2 separate regions of the Homo sapiens genome follow, and region 1 is linked to region 2. The links are contacts of gene promoters, found by promoter capture Hi-C in blood cells and fetal thymus (Javierre and others, 2016). All regions are on one chromosome and are shown on one strand. The core of a region is centred on a gene start or on the middle of the fragment in contact, and the rest is flanking DNA. Distances in the headings are between cores, read along the strand shown. Region 1 overlaps MAK16 (MAK16 homolog). Region 2 holds the start of DUSP26 (dual specificity phosphatase 26).

Region 1 (3,022 bases), core at 17-2,516, 110 kb after region 2:
AAAAATCAAAACAATTGAACTCATGGATATACAGAGTAGAAGGATGGTTACCAGAGGCTGGGAAGGGTAATGGGGGTGGGGATGATTAATGGGTACCCCCGCTAAAAAAAATAGGAAGAATGAAATAAGACCTAGTATTTGCTAGCAGCACAACAGCGTGACTATAGTCAATTATTTAATTGTACATTTTAAAATAACTGTAAGGATAATTGAACTGTTTGTAACACAAAGGATAAATGCTTGAGGGGACGGATACCCAATTTTCCATGATGTTATTACTCACTGCATGCCTGTATTGTATTTCACTGCAGAAATTCCATTTGATTAGAATGCTCAAAATCTACTAAAGGTTTTATGTAGTATGTAAAATATGCAACATCAAAATTCTGAAGTCTGAAATATTTGACCACAAGAAATTCAGAAAAAGGAGTTGTGGATTCTTTCTGTTCTCCATTACATATATCCCCAAAGCACACATACTTTAACCTGTGCTGAAAATCATAATCTTAAAATATGAAAAATTAAATGTCTTAGGCAACTAATAGTTATCTATTAGTGAACCATTATCCAAGGCCTCAACAGTTTACATAATGATGGTGACTGAATCTATAAGAGACCCCCAGAAAGAAAATGTAGAAGGTATGAATATCTCAACAATAAGTTACCTCTCTTCTTTTCTCCCTACGCTCCACCTTCTTACTCAAAGGAACAAGTTTCCTCCTAAGGGAAAGAAAATATATCAGAAAATCCACTGTCATGTGCTGTGTTCCTTTTTAAGGATGAGAAGAAAAAAGGATTGGAATTGGTGACTAAAATGGAAGTCTACTCATGTGCAGGGCAGGATGGCTGAGCTTCAGGCATTCACGGAGGCTAGCGATTCAAACAAGCCTTGGAGCCCAAGGTTGGTGCTGTAGGGCTCAGCTCAATACAGCAAGATACACTAAACGCTTCTAGAAATTTAATACTATAAAAAGTCATATATTTTTACATGTATTTTAATCCGGCCATTTTTGTTCAGGCATTCTGGGATTCTCAGGGCATTCACCATGCTAAAATTAAGACTTCAGTGAACTAAGAAAAAAGAATTTTCTGTCGAAGTCTGACATCATCTTTAGCATTCTATGTAGATCACAGTCAAAAAGCATTAGGGCCTAACAGTCCTAGAGAAGGTATTCTGTTAATTCTGGGGATTTCATATCACTTTTAAAAATTAGTTTTCAGTGAATCCAGAGTAAAGTTCTTACATTCCTGTATAGTCACATGTCTTAGATCATTTTCAAATCTCTAAAGTTAAGATTCCCTCGGGGGTCATAGAGGAAATTTTCTGAAGGCTGGGCATGGTGGCTCATGCCTGTAATCCCAGCACTTTGGGAGGCTAAGGCGGATCGCTTGAGGTCAGGAATTCTAGACCAGCCTGGCCAACATGGTGAAACCCCATCTCTACTAAAAATACAAAAAAAATTAACCAGGCATGGTGGTCCATGCCTGTAATCCTAGCTGCTCAGGAGGCTGAGGTGGGAGGATTGCTTCAACCGGGGAGATGGAGGTTGCAGTGAGCTGAGGTCGCGCCACTGCAAATTCCAGCCTGGGCGACAGAGTGAGACTCCGTCTTAACAAAAAAGAAAATAAAATTTTCTGAAAGATTTTCAGACAAGGAGGGTGATAATCAAGTTGTATTCTACTGTTTTAAAAGTCCTGCCATATCAAAGGGCACACCTTTAGTCAAAGCTAAAGTTTCTCTTTAGTACATCATAACAGACTCCACAAAGTTGAATAGAAAGCCCCGAAGTTTCACAATTTCTCAACTTCAAAACAAGCTCCATAAAAAGAGAGATTTAAAAATAATGAATGATCCAAATACTTACTGTCGCTTTAGTGTAAGTTTTCTAATTCGAATTAGGTATTGGGTGATCTTGGTGAATCTCTGCTTACATTTGTGTCGAATGAAACGGGGCCAGTAAATCAGATTTTCATCTATTTGCTCCAGTGCTTTCTCATAGTTTTTACTAAGCCGGACCTACCAAACAGAAACAGGAAGTTTGAAGGGCAAGTGTAAATGATTCATTAGGTTTTCACTGTCAGTGACACCCATGGCCTAATGAGGATGGCCTCAAAAGTTAATGGTCATGGAATTGGGCATCATGGTCAAGCATGTGGCTTTGATGCTCTTGATCAGCGGTCACTGTAGTTTTGTTGTAAGGCTTACCCGTTCCCAGAGACGCCGAGGAAAAGCCGCTCGTTCTATAACCTTCATATACAAGTAGCACTGTCCTGAAGATAAAGTAAAATAGCTTTAGTGTTATTTACAGAAACTAAAGAACATCCCTGTAAAAGCTGTGGAGCAGTTCTTCTAGAAGTTAAAACTGGGGAGTTACCTTTCTCTTCTTTAATAGTGGCATACTGACTATTTGCCAGGGGACAGGATGACCGATTACACAGTCCAGTCAGGCTATATTCATTTCGGCAGAAGCTCTGAGTCTTGGTTCTAGAATGGGAGAAAAGAAACAAAGATTATAAAATGGGTTGCCAAAGAGGCAACTGAAGGAATCTTTGACCAAGTTGTAAATTGAGACTCACCTTATTTTGAAGGAACAAAATTGCTTGTTTCCTAGTGTATCCCAGATAACCTGCAAGACAAAGTAAAAGCCCATTTCAAATCCTCTGCCCCAAGAGATACTATATTAATTCAAGAAGGCAATGCCCAAGGACAGGAATGAGAGGAAGAAATGTTTTGTAAAATAGCCTGACTTGTTTACTTTTTAAAATACAAACAGCAAGGCCGGGCACGGTGGCTCACGCCTGTAATCCCAGCACTTTGGGAGGCTGAGTTGGGCGGATCACCTGAGGTGAGGAGTTTGAGACCAGCCTGATTAACATGGAGAAACCCTGTTTATATTAAAAATACAAAATTAGCTGGGCATGGTGGCGCATGCCTGTAATCCTAGCTACTCGGGAGGCTGGGGCAGGAGAATCGCTTGAACCCAGGAGAGGGAGGTTGCGGTGAGCCGAGATTGTGCCATTG
Region 2 (2,717 bases), core at 142-2,641:
GATTACAGGTGTGAGCCACCATGCCCTGCCTCTTTGTTTTAAATGACAAGGATTTCATTTCATATTTAAACTGCTGTAACACAAGGGACAAGGAAAAGTGAAAAGAATTTTGTTTCTCTAGAGAAAAAAAAAGGCTAGGCGGTACATTAAACTTGGATGGCAGCCTGTCATGGAACCTGGGGATTGGTCACATTGGCCAGTACTTTCTCTAACCCAGAGATCAAAACCTGATCTGCCACCACTGCTGGGAATGGAGTCAGTCCTGGTTTCAGCTATAGCTGACACCATCAGCTTCAATCTGAGCCAATCTACTTTCTGCCTTTCTTCTAGTAGACAGCGAGAGTTCAAGCCAGCCTAGTTCTCAACAGCATCATCTGCTAACATTTATCATCTCCCCCACTTCCCTCTCACACAATAAGGTAGGCACTGGGGAAGGTAGCACAGTCCCTGCCTTCAAAGTGCTTACAATCTTGGTGCTTACAATAAAAATGCCGATCAAGTGAATATGTCACTAGAAGGCAGCACATGAGAAATTAATATGAAGATGGCCGGACACAGTGGCTCATGCCTGTAATCTGAGCACTTTGAGAGAAGGTGGGTGGATCACCTGAGGTCAGGAGTTCAAGACCAGCCTGGTCAACATGGTGAAACCCCATCTGTACTAAAAAACAAACAAACAAAGAAAAAATATATACAAAAAATTAGCCAGGCATGGAGGCGGGCGCCTGTAATCCCAGCTACTTGGGAAGCTGAGGCAGGAGAATGGCTTGAACCTGGGAGGCGGGTTACAATGAGCCAAGATTGCGCCACTGCACTCCAGCCTGGGCGACAGAGTGGGACTGCATCTCAAAAAAGAAAGAAAGAAATATGAAGATGAATGTTTTGAGAGTCTGGGGAAAGTGAAGTTCACTATGAGCTGAGCTGGTGGAAATGGCTTCCTGAATGAAGGAAATCCATGGTGCCTTCTCCATTTTGTGGGAGGCACTGGTTTAGAGAGTGGTTAAGGACATAAACTGCAAAGCCAGGCTGCATTGTTTGAACAAGCTCAGCTCTGCCAGTAACGAGCTGTGTGACCAGGGCAGAGTACCTAGCCTCTCTGTGCCTAGGTCGCCTCCTCCCTAAAATTAGGACAATAGTAATTATGTCTCCCTCATAGACTTGTGGGGAGTATAAAATGCCTTAAGCTAAATGAAGCACATGGCATATAATGAAGGCTAATGGGGGCTTCGGACCATTGTTCTTTATGACACGGTTTCTTGAGACCGAGGCATGTACAAGCCAGTGCACAGAATCGTGTCTATGTAATTAGTTAATTCTGTCTGGGAGGAGTGTGTGTGTTTAAGACAGTGCCTGGGATGACTTATAATGTAATCTTTAGGCAAAACGCTTTGTAATTGGTGCAGCTCTGAGAACACACGCATGCATTCCAGGCGGTGCTGCTGGGGCTCGGCGGGGCCGTGTCTGGTCTGCAAGGCGCGCGGGCTCGTGGGGGGTTGGCTGGGGAGCCCACGCTGCCTGGCGACTCGGGCCACCGAATGTGAGACCGAGTCCCTTTATGTCACCAGCGCACACGCTGATTTGAACCCTGCTTCGACGTGTGTGTCATGGCTTAAAAATAGCTGCTAATCTGTCAACCTGTCTTGGGCAGAAACAGCGGCGGCGACAGCAGCAGGAGCGTCATGGCCGTGGCGCTGTCTGCGCCGGCGATCCGCCTTTCGGACTGAGGCCCAGCGCAGCGCTTGCAAAGAGGTAGAGGGGCTGCGGCGGGCCTTCGCCTTTTCAGCTGGCTCTCCACGCTGGGGAGAGGCGCCCAGCTAGGGGCGACGGGGGAGGGAGGGGACCGGGAAGCGGGCACCCGAGCCCAGCGAGCCAGCCTCTCTCTCCCGGGCGCCCTCCCTCCGCGCGCGGGGCCCGGCTGCCAGGCTGGCGAGGACTGGGGCGACAGCCATGGACCTGTTACAAAGGCGACCGCAGGCGGAGGGAGGGAGCGGCGGGCCAGGGCCCCTGGAGCCGACGGATGGGATTGGAGAATGCCCAGGGCTGTATCCCTGGACAGAAAGGGGCTTCTGCATCCCCCGGGAAAAACAGCCCCACGGAGATCCTTCTTAGACCTGGGCTCCTTCACGCTTCCCCCATCCCATTCATCATCTCGTAGACAGCAGACTCTCTAAGAGGAAAGGTTGTATTGCAATACAGTAATGGGGTCTTTAGGCCTGGGTGCAAAGGTAGAAGAAGATGATGGTGATAGTGATGGTGGTGATGGTGGTAGTGATGATGGTGATGGTGGTGGTGATGATGGCTGTAGTGCTATATTTCTGTGCTCCTTCCGGACCCAGCCATTGAAAACTCTCTCTCCCTAAACTCCCTAACATCCAATCTTCCCTCACCAATCCTGGTCCTAAAACCCCTGCTTCTAATGCCTTGTAAGTGCTTGGTTTCTCTTGGCACTGGAGCAAGGGAGAGCTGGGCCCTGTCTAGGGGTGTGAGATGGGGACAGAGCATGGGCAGGGACAAAGATGGCCTCTCACTGCTGGTCATAGAGTTGAAGTCCCCCTGGCAGGAGGCCAGGAAGGGAGTGGAAGGGGATTCTGCAGGCTCCAGGACCTCCTGCTTTCAAACAGGCAGGACCACAGGTGTGAGAGGATGGGGAGGGAGGGGGAAGGGGCCTTGCCATTGTTGCCTCCCTGCCTGAAGGTCCCAGGGCAAGCCTCAAACGC

What was found. The method cuts DNA at HindIII sites, captures the fragments that hold promoters and counts their contacts. A CHiCAGO score of 5 or more calls a contact.
Region 1: a fragment that was not itself captured here is called in contact with the fragment with the promoter of DUSP26 in region 2 in 2 of 17 cell types (non-activated CD4 T cells and total B cells); the score reaches 7.0 in non-activated CD4 T cells.

What each region holds. Positions count from the first base shown.
Region 1 is chr8:33,487,983-33,491,004 of GRCh38, reverse strand. It overlaps MAK16 (MAK16 homolog), which reads right to left. Exons shown (of 10, transcript NM_032509.4): 2 at 2,578-2,627; 3 at 2,376-2,485; 4 at 2,207-2,271; 5 at 1,866-2,017; 6 at 666-720. Among named protein-coding and RNA genes, the nearest start is that of MAK16, 4.3 kb to the right of the region's middle. The HindIII fragment of the contact is 5,323 bases long and covers 1-3,022 here.
Region 2 is chr8:33,598,697-33,601,413 of GRCh38, reverse strand. DUSP26 (dual specificity phosphatase 26) reads left to right here and starts at 1,391. Exons shown (of 4, transcript NM_024025.3): 1 at 1,391-1,749. The HindIII fragment of the contact is 17,028 bases long and covers 1-2,717 here.